3 separate regions of the Homo sapiens genome follow, and regions 1 and 3 are each linked to region 2. The links are contacts of gene promoters, found by promoter capture Hi-C in human tissues and cell types (Jung and others, 2019). All regions are on one chromosome and are shown on one strand. The core of a region is centred on a gene start or on the middle of the fragment in contact, and the rest is flanking DNA. Distances in the headings are between cores, read along the strand shown. Region 1 overlaps KDM2B (lysine demethylase 2B). Region 2 holds the start of MLXIP (MLX interacting protein). Region 3 overlaps KDM2B (lysine demethylase 2B).

Region 1 (3,964 bases), core at 844-3,343, 600 kb after region 2:
GACCCTGTGTTCAAAAAGAAAAAAACAGAGCCTGAGCCCAGTATAAATAATTGGGGTCAGCTGGGCGCAGTGGCTCACGCCTGTAATCCCAGCACTTTGGGAGGCCGAGGCGGGTGGATCATGAGGTCAGAAGATCGAGACCATCCTGGTTAACACGGTGAAACCCCGTCTCTACTAAAAATACAAAAAATTATCTGGGCGTAGTGGCGGGAGCCTGTAGTCTCAGCTACTCGGGAGGCTGAGGCAGGAGAATGGCGTGAACTTGGGAGGCGGAGGTTGCAGTGAGCCGAGATCACGCCACTGCACTTCAGCCTGGGCGACAGAGCACGACTCCGTCTTAAAAAAAAAAAAAAAAGGATCTACTTGAGGGTGGAGGTAGGCAGGAGAGGGCGAGGATCAAAAAACATTACCTATTGGGTATTGTTGTGCTTACTACCGGAGTGGCGAAATGATCTGTACACCAGTCCCCTTCGACACACCATTTACCTATATAACAAACCCGCCCATGTACTGCTGAACATAAAAAGAAAAAAAATATTGGAAGCTGGACGCAGTGGCTCATTCCTGTAATCCCAGCACTTTGGGAGGGGAGGCCAAGGCGGGAGGGTTATTTGTTGACCATCCTGGGCAACATGGAGAGAACCTGTTTCTACAGAACTTTTAAAAAGATTTAAGGCCAGTTGAGGTGGCTCACGCCTGTAATCCCAACACTTTGGGAGGCTGAGACGGGAGGATCCCTTGAGCTCAGGAGTTCAAGACCAGCCTGGGCAACATAATGAGATCCCCGTCTCCATAAAAATTTTTTTAATGATAAAAAAAAGTTTTAAAATAAGAAAAAAGCCTGGGCACGATGGCTCACACCTGTAATCCTAGCACTTTGGGAGGCCAAGGCAGGTGGATCACCCGAGGTCAAGAGTTTGAGACCAGCCTGGCCAACATGGTGAAACTTTGTCTCTACTAACAATATAAAAATTAGCTGGGTGTGGTGGCAGACACCTATAATCCCAGCTACTCTGGAGGCTGAGGCACAAGAATCGCTTGAACCCGGGAGGCAGAAGTTGCAGTGAACCGAGATCATGCTATCGCACTCCAGCCTGAGTGACAAGAGCAAAACTCCATCTCCAAAAAAAAAAAAAAGGAAAGACAAAAAGAAAAGAAGAAAAAAATTAGCTGGGCATGGTGGCATGCACCTGTAGTCCTAGCTCCTCAGGAGGCTAAGGAGGGAGGATCCCTTGAGCTCAGGAGTTGGAGGGTGTAGTGGGCTGTGATTGTGCCACTGCACTCCAGCGTAGGTGACAGAGTAGACTTTGTCTCTTAAAAAAATAAATACATATATACATACATATATAAAAATAACTGGGGCCAGGCCAGGTATGGTAGCTCATACCTGTAATGAAAGGTATTTTTACAATACCTTTTTAGAAGGTACCATTTTTAGAAGCCAAGGTGAGACCATGCCTCCACAAAAAATAAAAAAAATTAGCCTGGTGTGGTGGCTTTGTGCCTGTAGTCCCAGCTAGTTGGATGAGATGGGGGGATTGCTTGAGGCCTGGAGTTAGAATCTGCAGTCAGCTATCATTGGCACCACTGCACTCCAGCCTGGGTGACAGAGTGAGACTCCGTCTCTACAAGATTCAAATTAAAAAAATTGTTTCATCAGGAGATGAAAAATGATCTTTGAAGAATGTCATTCCGTGTGAATTAGCTGGCGATGTTTGGCAGAGCTTTTCCTTGTCAACTGGGGCTACCCCTAAAAACAGTTCCTCCTGAGCCAGCAGTGTGAGGGCTTCACTTCTTGCCCTTTAAATGCTGATTTTCAAAGTAAGGAGTTGGTTAATGGCTATTTCAAATGGTGACAATAGATTTTGTCAGGCTTTTTCTATTTTGAGTGTCTTGATGGATCTATGAAAATCCATGAAATGAAGAACAAGAATGGTAACTGAAGAGAGAGGCCCATGGCAGCAGCCAGGGAAAGGGAGGAGGGAGGGAAGGAAGGAGGGAGAGAAAAGCCATATGTATTGGAATTAAAGTGTCATCGGAGCCCATCAGACCCCCACAGTGACTGTTAGCAGCTCATTTAAGAGGTGATTGAACTATCTCTTTGTTTCAGTTAGTTTTAACACATCCCGGGGTTTAGGGCCTATAGTTTCTAACCGTGTTACCTTTCAGGAATAGGACCTAAAGTCACTCTTTTTAATTTTATTTTTAAGAGACAGGGTTTTTTTTTTTTAAAAACAAAAAACAAAAAACTACCTGTTGGATGCCGCTTGTCTTGTTCGGTCACCCAGGGTGGAGTGCAGTGGCGTGATCATAGCTCACTGCAGCCTGGGACTCCTGAGCTCAAACAGTACTCCCACTTCAGCCTCCCAAATAGCTGGGACTACAGGCATACTACCATGCTCGGCTAATTTTTTTTTTTTTGAGGCGAAGTCTCGCCCTCGTCCTTCAGGCTGGAGTGTAATGGCACAATCTTGGCTCACTGCAACCTCCGCCTCCCGGGTTTGAGTGACTCTCCTGCCTCAGCCTCCCGAGTAGCTGGGATTACAGGTGCCTGCCACCATACCCAGCTAATTTTTGTATTTTTAGTAGAGACAGGGTTTCACCATGTTGGCCAGGCTGGTCTTGAACTCCTGACCTCAGGTGATCTGCCCGCCTTGGCCTCCCAAAGTGCTGGGATTACAAGCGTGAGCCACCGTGCCGGGCATTTTTTTTTTTTTTGGACACAGAGTCTCACTCTATTGCTCAGGCTGGTCTCAAACTCCTGGACTCAAGTAATCCTCCTACCTTGCCCTCCCAAAGTGTTGGGATAACAGGTGTGAGCCACTGCCCCTGGCCTAAAATCTCTCTTGAGTGATGATAGAGCCATAGGGAGATGCCCCAACTCTTGGAGAGAAAATAACATCTATTCAAAGACGTGGGGGTTGTGGGGCAGGGGGGTTAGTCTTCTCCTCATCTCCAAGATTTTCTTTCTAAAAAAAATTTTTTTTTATAGATGGGGTCTTGCCATGTTGCCCAGGCTGGTCTCAAACTCTTGGGCTCAAGCAATCCTCCTGCCTTAGCCTCTCAAAGTCCTAGGATTACAGTCATGAGCCACTGTGCCTGTTTTTTTTGTTTTGTTTTTTGAGACAGAGTCCCTGTCTGTCACCCAGGGTGACTGAGTGCAGTCACAATCTTGGCTCACTGCAGCCGCAACCTGTTGGGCTCAAATGATCCTCACACCTCAGCCTCTTGAGTAGCTGGGACTTAAAAGTGCATGCCACCTTGCCTGGCTAAATTTTCTTCTATTTTTTGTAAAGACAGGGTCTCAGTGTGTTGCCCAGGCTGGTCTCAAGCTCTCTGGGCTCAAGTGATCCTCCTGCTTCAGCCTCCCAAAGTGTTGGCATTACGGGTATGAGCTTCCACACCTGGCCTCCAAGTTTTGGTATAGTTTTTTTGTGTGTCCATTTTTGACCAGATTAGCTAACCTAGGGAAGACATGTCTGATGAAATACACACACACACACACACACACACACACACACACACACACACACAGAGTCATGTGTAGTTTAATGACAGGGATACATTCTGAAGAATGCATCATTAGGCAATTTCGTCATAGAATGTCCTTATACAAACCTAGATGATATAGCCCTCTACACACCTGGGCTGTATGGTAAAGCCTGTTGCTCCTGGGCTGCAAACTTGTACAGCATGCTACTGTATGAATACTGTAGGCAACTGTAACACTATGGTAGGTATTTTTGGTTTTCTGTTTGTTTGAGACAGAGTCTCGCTCTGTCTCCCAGGCTGGAGAGCAGTGAGTGGCATGATCATGGCTCAATGCAGCCTCAAACTCCCAGGCTCAAGAGATCCTCCTTCCTCGGCCTCCCCAGGTGCTGGGACTGCAGATGTGCACCACCACGCCCAGCTAATGTTTGTATTTTTTGTAGAGATAGGGTTTTGCCGTGTTGCCAGGTTGGTC
Region 2 (4,059 bases), core at 305-2,804:
TAAGACAGCCCCCGCTAGTCCAGTTCCTAATGCAATAAGCTTAACTCAGCAGAGATCCCATCATGAGCTTTCTGCAGGGCCAAGCTGCTCAAGGCCGCTGCTGCCAGTCCAAAGAAGTTCTGTTGCGCAGACAAAAAAGTTACCTGCAGCAAATACCTAATATTCATAGTGGGAAAGGGAGAGAGAGTGAAAAAGCGCTTTAATCTTTGAGGGCCAGGCATTTTCTGTGACTTGGAAAAGAGGAATCTCTGCCCAGAGCCGAATCCACATGTCAGAACGGTGTCTGGGATGTCTGCCCTCAACAATGACATCTCCCTCATATAATGTTTCAGGACCGGCCAGAAAACCCTCCAACTTGCCAGAAGGACAGACTGCACCTCCAACAGCTGTGGCACCAAAAGTCTTCTTAGGAGGCACCCAAAGCCCTCCCGAGATGGGGGCGGGCCTCCCGATGAGGTTGTAAGGGGGCCAGCCTCCAGGTGCAGGGACACCTAACTCTGGCCAAGCACTGGAATAAGCAATTTACCTATCTCACTCCATCCCCACAACAGCCCCTTGGAGGCAGACACTACAGTCATTCCCCTTTTATAAAGGAGGAAACAGGCTCCGAGGTGTTACACAACCATTAAACAGCAGAGCCAGCCTCCAGTCACCCCGAACAGGTGGTCCTGACCGCTGCTGGATATGGGGGAAACACACAAAGCGTTTGGAGGAAGGAGTCGATAGAGTCGGGTAACACAAGATGCAGCCAGTGTTTATACCTCTTCCTCGTCCAACATCGGTGGTCCCAGGACACTGGAGGGGAGGGCCTGGATGGGGAACGTGAACCCGAAAGGACCCCGGCACTGCTGGCAGGGGAAGAGGCCAGGACCCCGGCTCCTCTGGCAACGCGGGGAACCCCAGATCCATAAACCCTCCCGAAGGAGGAAGACCCAAAGGGAATGCATGAAGCCACGGGGTTGCCAGGCGGCCCTTCCCTCCACGCTTGTTTTGTCAAACAAGGGCCTCCGGCCGGGGCCTCAGGGGGTCGCGGGGGTCCCTACCTGTAGGCCAAAGTCATGCACTCGAAGAGCTTGGTGAGCGAGGCGTCGATGGACAGGTGGCAGGAGCTAGTCTTGCCGAAGCTGTAGGTCTGGCACGTCTGTTTGTTGACCGTGTCGAAATCGTAGCCCTTCTTGGGCGGGTGCTCTCGGTGCGGCGACGACACCATGAAGTGGCCGCTGTGGATGATCTGCTGGCGGCGCGGAGGTTCCTCGCGGCCCGGCCCGGCCCGAGGCGGCGGTGGCGCGGCGCTCGCGTGGGCCCGGGCCGGGGTGGCCGCGCCGGAGGCGGGCGGCGGGGACGGCTCATCCGTGTCCGAGTCGTCGTCGTCCTCGGACACCTGGGGCTTGAGCAGCACCTGGCGGCCCCGGCTGCGAGGCCGGCGCGGGGAGCACATGAAGACGTCGGCGGCCATGAGAAGGGCTCGGCCGGGGGCATCCCCCGGAGCCCGGGGCAACGCGACAAGCGCGCGAGGCAGAGGGGCGCCGGCCCGGCCCGGCCCGCGCGCCGACTGTCCGCGAGCGCGCGGCGCGGCGGGAGGGGGAGGGCTCCGGCCCCGGCGTGACGTCACCGAGGCGTCTGGGCCAATCGGCTGCCCGCGTCGGCCTCTTAAAGGCGCAGGGGAACCTTTCCTTAGCTAGGCGGACCAAAAAAAAAAAAAAAGGGGAAGCGGAGGCCACGCCTCCCGGCCGTGCCCCTCGCCACCTCCTCCTCTCCCGGCGTCCGTGGGTGCTGAGGGACACGGTGGCCGGGCGGAGCGGCTCGCCGGTGTCGCGACCTGGGAGAGGCGTCGGCAGAGTGGGGCCGTGCTAGTCCCGCCCCCGCCCCGCTCCGCGCCCCGGGAGTCGCCCTGTGGCTTCGCCGCAGGCCCGGCCGGCTCCACGTGGTGGGTGCGGGTGGGGCTCCTCGGCCTCCAGGCCCTGCTTTTTCCCTGCCGGGCGGTACCGAGTCCTCGCAGCTCACGCCTGAGTTTGCCGGACGTGGTGGCTATTGTCCTCATTATTCTCATCGTATTGATGGGAACACTGGGTGGCTGAATACCGACAGGATTTTTCTCAGACCTGGAGTCCACAGAGCTGGGAACTTGCTTCCCCTGCGCGTCCCCAGCTCGGCGCAGCTGTTGAGTGGCAGCGCCCCTGAGCCCAGCGACCTCCAGACCCCAGCTCTTTTAACTTCAACTCAGCATGCTGTTGTTATTTTTTTAAAGTTTGACGGACGAGCCAGCCCCCGAAACAATTCTAAAAGGGGAGTATCTGAGCCAGAGTTTTCTTCTCTGTCAAATGGTGAACAATTCCGTTTCCTCAGAAACTTGGGACAGTTTAAAAATGGCTATAGTGGGGCGCGGTGGCTCATGCCTGTAATCCTAGCACTTTTGGAGGCCGAGGCGGGTGGATCACTTGAGGCCAGAAGTTCAAGACCAGCCAGGCCAACACGGTGAAACCCTGTCTCTACTAAAAATAACAAAAATTAGCCGGTCGTAGTGGTGCACCCCTGTAATCCCAGCTACTCGGGAGGCTGAGGCAGGAGAATCGCTTGAATCCGGGAGGTGGAGGTTGCAGTGAGCCGAGATTGCGCCATTGCACTCTAGCCTGGGCGACAGAGCGAGGCCCTGTCTCAAAAAGAAAAATAAATACAAATAAAAATGGCTATAAGTTGCTTAGCAGGCAGGCTGGCACAAAATGAGCGCTAAATAAATGTGCCACAGGTTGGAGGATTTGGATCAACCAGACCAGAGGTGCCTAGAAATTGCCAATAGTCCACCACTATTTGACCTGCAGAAACGGCAACTTCGCGTGGCACAACCTAACTGACAGACACCTCTAGAAAGCTGTCAAGGTTTCCGGGGCTCAAAGCCAGTCTGGGGTGGGGGTGGCAGGGCATCAGAAGAGCCAGTGAGGCCCATGAGCCAGGAACACCCATCCTAATCCTAGCAGGGCGTCCAGAGTCCACAGCCACTCCTGCACTCTGCTTTGTTTTATTGTTGTTTTGTTTTTTGAGACAGAGTCTTGCTCTGTCACCCAAGGCTGTAGCGCAGTGGTGCAATCACCATGTTGGCCAGGCCGGTCTGGAACTCCTGACCTCAAGTGAGGCCTGCCTTGGACTCCCAAAGTGCTGGGATGACAGGCATGAGCCACCGCGCTGGCTCTGCACTCGGCTTTGAAGCTGGTTTCAGTTCCAGATTTGAGTGGGGGGTGAGTCCCCTGCCCCACCCTCTTCCTGACAAAGGCCTCCTGAAGGGAACAGAGGGCTCTCACCAAAATGGCTCCATTAACTTATTTCCAAATGTCTGTATGGAAAAATGGGCTGGATGACTGGCAGTTTTCAGGCATGAGTTCTAGATTTCCCTCTTCAACCTACTACTGTTCCCAATGCTGGTTACAAGTGTTTAAAAGTCCATCCTTTGAGTTGCCTTCCTTTCTCTCAAGACTTGTCTCCTTGGTCCTTGGTAAGTTTACATGCCCAGCCACTTTTTTTTTTTTTTTTTTTTGAGACAGGATCTGGCTCTTTCACCTGGACTGGAGTGGAGTGGTGCCATCATGGCTCACAGCACCCTCAACCTCCAGGGCTCAGGTGATCCTCCCACCTCAACTTCCCAAGTAGCAGGACCACAGGTGCACACCACCGTGCCCTGCTAATTTTTGTACTTTTTATAGAGATGGGGTCTCGCCATGCTGCCCAGCCTGGTCTCGTCTCGAGTTCCTGACCTCAAGTGATCCTCCTGCCTCAGCCTCCCAAGGTGCTAGAATTACAGGTGTGAGCCACCATGCCCTGCTTTTTTGTCTTTGTGTTTACCTATATTTTCTTTCTTTTTTTTTTTTTTTGAGACAGGGTCTCACTGTGTCACATTGGTGTGATCGTGGCTCACTGTAGCCTCAACCTCCCCTGCCCAAGCTATCCTCCCACCTCAGTCTCCCGAGTAGCTGTGACCACAGGTGGGCACCACCACACCCAGCTAATGTTTAATTTTTTTGTAGAGATGGAATTTCCCTATGTTGCCCAGGCTGGTCTCAAACTCCT
Region 3 (4,060 bases), core at 1,105-3,604, 550 kb after region 2:
CCAGCTGCTCGGGAGGCTGAGGCCAGAGAATGGTGTGAACCCGGGAGGCAGAGCTTGCAGTGAGCAGAGATCACGTCACTGCACTCCAGCCTGGGCGACAGAGCGAGACTCCGTCTCAAAAAATATAAAAAAGAAATTTATTTAATTTTTCAGACAGAGCGTTGCTCTTGTTGCCAAGGCTGGAGTGCAATGGCATGATCTCGGCTCACTGCAACCTCCGCCTCCTGGGTTCAAGTGATTCTCCTGCCTCAGCCTCCTGAGTAGCTGGGATTACAAGTGTGCACCACCACGCCCAGCTAATTTTTGTAGTTTTAGTAGAGACGTGGTTTTACCATGTTGCCCAGGCTGGTCTTGAACTCCTGACCTCAGGTGATCGGCCCGCCTCGGCCTCCCCAAGTGCTGGGATTACAGGTGTGAGCCACTGTGCCCGGCTAAAAAAATTTTTAAATTTTGTTTTAGAGACATGGTCTTGCTCTTGTGCCCAGACTGGAGTGCAATGTTGTGATCACAGCTCATTGCAGTGTTGCCTTGACCTCCTGGGCTTAAACAATCGTCCTATCACAGCCTCTAGGGTAGCTGGGACTACAGGCATGTGACACCATTTTTTTTTAAACAAATAAAGAAAATACCTAAGGCCCAAGATCTCACAGTGACCAGGTCAGAGCAAGAACCCAGGTGTGCCTACTTTGAAAACACATATTCCTAAATATACCTACTTTGAACTCCAGTAGCTTGGGAGTCAGGAGACTTGGGATCTGGTCCTCCTTCTTGACTCTTGACTATGTGAGAACTATTTGCTCATTTAACAAACTTTCTTTTTTTTTTCCCCTGAGGCAGAGTCTTGCTCTGTCACCCAGGCTGGAGGGCAATGGCACAATATTGGCTCACTGCAACTTTTACCTCCTGGGTTCAAGTGATTCTCCTGCCTCAGCCTCCTGAGTAGCTGGGATTACAGGCGTGTGCCACCACACCCAGCTAATTTTTTCTATTTTTAGTAGAGACGGGGTTTCATCATGTTGGCCAGGCTGGTTTCAAACTCCTGACTTCAAGTGATCCGCCTGCCTTGGCCTCCCAAAGTGCTGGGATTACAGGTGTGAGCTACCAGTCTCGGCTTCATTTAACAAACTTTCTTAAGGGCCCACTTGGTGCCAGATGATGTGGGGGGCCTTGGAGGGGACATAAGACAGATCCCCTCCCTCCTGAGAGCAGCTTATCCAGCCAGGTGGCATCCAGGGTGGCAGAGGCCAGTATGGGGACCTTATTTGTCATATAAGTGGGGATGGCAGTGCCTGGGGAAGACCCAGGGATCTGTGACTTGGGCTGGCCTAAAGTTATTTCCCATCCTTGCATTCTAGAAAGAACCACTGAAGACCCAAATATCATGGTAGCCCCAGGTATTTCTTACACTCCAGCAAGTCTGAGAAGAAATTCCTTAATGGTGTCACGTGGTTGGGCCTCAGACGATCCATCTATCAAATGGGTCTAAAGCAGGGAAGGGGACTGGATGGGTTGGGGCCGTGGGAAACTGGGCAGTACCTGCTCAGCCAGTCCAGCTAGGGCCAGGTGGGAATCCAGACCTTCCTATTTTTCTAGGTGGAAGGCAGCATTTCAGATTGTCACATGGAATGTACTGGCGTGGCACGGTGGCTCACGCCTGTAATCCCAGCACTTAGCACTTTGGGAGGCTGAGGTGGGCGGATCACCTGAGGCTGGGAGTTAGAGACCGGCTTGGCCAACATGGTAAAACCTCATCTCTAGTAAAAATTTGTGTGCCTGTGATTCCAGCTACTCAGGAGGCTGAGGCAGGAGAATGGCTTGAACCTGGGAGGTGGAGGTTGCAGTGAGCCGAGATGGCACCACTGCACTCCAGCCTGGGTGACACAGTAAGGCTCTGTCTCAAAAAAACAAAAACCCAACAAAACAACAACAAAAGAAATATCCCCATTTTTAAACATGGGGTGGCGTGAAGTAATTGGCCCCTGGTCCCAACTATGAGGTCCTTGAAGGGAGAGTATCCTTACTTCATGTCAGCAGCCACAGGTTCGTTCCTGATCCTGGCCCGGCGCAGGGAGTTCACTGATGTCGGTGAAAGAAGCCAGGGTCCGGTTGGGTTGTGGGCGTCTGTGAGGTGTCCCTTGCCCAGTTCTGAGACCTCTAGGTTTATTCCTGCTAAAGCCACAGAGGTGGAGGCAGATGTGGGTGGGGCCTTTGGATTCCGAGTCCTGAGCAGACGCTCAGGTTGTGGGTGAGCCCCACCTGCCCCTGCTGCCCTTCTTGGGCCCCCTGAGGTCCCAGAGAATGTGCTGCTTTGTGTATCACTGGCTTCCCATCTATGACTGCATCTGTCCCTGGTCGCTTGGCCTGAATAGCCTCTGTTTATTGCCTTCATATTGTCGATGACTCTGGCTGGAAGCAGGAGGCAGATGCCAGCGTTCCCAGCCCAGGCAGCAGCCTGGGAGCACCGGCTCTCATGCTTCCTGGGCTGTCGAGAGGCCATCGGAGGAGGGGTATGGATGGGGCCCACAAACGCTGTTATTTCCACACCTCCTTCTTACTGAGGGAGGCATGTGGGTAATGAAGCAGATGTGAGCAGAGCTGGGGGAGGGACGCAGTGGCGGCTAATCCAGGGGTGGCTGCCTGACCCACCCTTGAGGCCCTGGCTGCGAAGGGGAGTGGGTAAAAGCTTCTAGAATCCCTCGAGTGTCTGGGCGTGCAGATCCCCTGCCCCCTCCTCGCAGCAGCAGCTCTCCTCTGTGTTCCTCTTTCCTCACGTGTCAGGGCAACAGATGTAAGTCAGGTGCGTTGGCCTCTGCACCTGCCAGGAGAACAGGGAGAGTCCAGGGCTGGGAAAGATGGATGCATGTGGGCACCATCCTCTACCAGAGCCCTTGTGATCGACAGAGACAACCACAGATACCAATGCCAATTGCTTATATGGATTCAGGACTTGCTCACCAAGTTCCCCAGAAGGGAGGGGAGTGGAGGGGACAGGATGGAACCCTAGCCCCTGGACTTGGGCTTTCTGCAGGGAGGGAGGTAGGCTTGTGGGGCCATATAAGATGCACCTGCCTGTGCATCACATGACCCGGTGGTCCCGGGTCCCAATCTTAGGAAATGTTGCTAGGATAACGGGGATGGCGACAATAACAGCATTCAATAGCATGGTTCCACTTGGTGGAAACATGGAAATGTTGAGGTCAGCCTGCAGGCAGCAGAGGCAGGAGACTGAAGCGGATGTGGAGACAGAGGCTCTTTCAGGGCGGCAGCCATGCTTCTGTGCAGAGGAGGGTGAAGGTCGTGGGATGGGAAGCTGGGGAGCTCGACGGCCGCTTGCAACCGCACAGAGCAGCTGTCTTTCATGGCTCACGCCAGAGACCCGGGGAGCCAGGCACAGAACGAGGTTGCCTAAAGCAAAGCCCTCGTGCCTGTACCCGGCAGCACTGGGCTTCTGGTGATGAGCTTTCCCTTGCTCTCCCCTGAGGATGGCCAGCTCTGTTCCATGCGTTGCCCTGGTGGGAAGGGACAGCGGCTGAGTGTCCACTGCGGATGCCAGCAGTGGCCCCGCAGTCTGTGCTGTCTTCCAGGCAGGAGCGTTGCTCCCAGCAGTGGTGACCACCCATGACTCAGGGCTGGCGTGTTTCATTGGGGGACAGACTGGAACCGCTCGGGCTTGGGGGGCAGAGGCAGTCGCTGTAATTTTCCTCAGAGCAAAAGAATAAAGTGCATGGCTGGGAGAGGAGGGGACAGCGGCCTCCAGGGCCAGGCCCTTCAAGGTGCAGGGTCTTGGGGCACCGCCACCCTTCCCTCTGCTGCACCATTCCCCCAGCCAACCCTCCTCTGTCCTTCACTGTGAGTTGCTCCGCCTCTGTCCGCCCTTGTCCTTATTTCTCTCTGCGTTTCTCCTTTTGCCTCCCCTCTGTATTTCCCAGCCTTTCCCCCGGGACTTGCAGTCCTGTGCAGAACCTTTGATGCAGCGGCAGCTGTGCAGCGTGCTGGCTAAAAACGGAGCCGCTGTCGCTTGCCAGCTGTGACTCATTCAGCAAGTGGCTTCCCCCTTTGT

Evidence for each region. The method cuts DNA at HindIII sites, captures the fragments that hold promoters and counts their contacts. A contact is called where the count stands out against the background at its distance.
Region 1: a contact is called between a fragment that was not itself captured here and the fragment with the promoter of MLXIP in region 2, in 2 of the 25 tissues and cell types used here (aorta and dorsolateral prefrontal cortex).
Region 3: a fragment that was not itself captured here is called in contact with the fragment with the promoter of MLXIP in region 2 in 1 of the 25 tissues and cell types used here (dorsolateral prefrontal cortex).

The regions. Positions count from the first base shown.
Region 1 is chr12:121,474,753-121,478,716 of GRCh38, reverse strand. All of the region lies in intron 12 of KDM2B (lysine demethylase 2B), which reads left to right. Among named protein-coding and RNA genes, the nearest start is that of MIR7107, 32 kb to the right of the region's middle. RefSeq lists an enhancer at 1,694-2,521. The HindIII fragment of the contact is 8,981 bases long and covers 1-3,964 here.
Region 2 is chr12:122,076,251-122,080,309 of GRCh38, reverse strand. MLXIP (MLX interacting protein) reads right to left here and starts at 1,554. Exons shown (of 17, transcript NM_014938.6): 1 at 1,044-1,554. The coding sequence starts at 1,456. RefSeq lists enhancers at 972-1,211, 3,279-3,328 and silencers at 1,272-1,721, 1,732-2,011. The HindIII fragment of the contact is 9,979 bases long and covers 1-4,059 here.
Region 3 is chr12:121,523,123-121,527,182 of GRCh38, reverse strand. The region is part of intron 8 of KDM2B (lysine demethylase 2B); the gene reads left to right. Among named protein-coding and RNA genes, the nearest start is that of KDM2B-DT, 55 kb to the left of the region's middle. RefSeq lists an enhancer at 3,782-3,971. The HindIII fragment of the contact is 6,227 bases long and covers 1-4,060 here.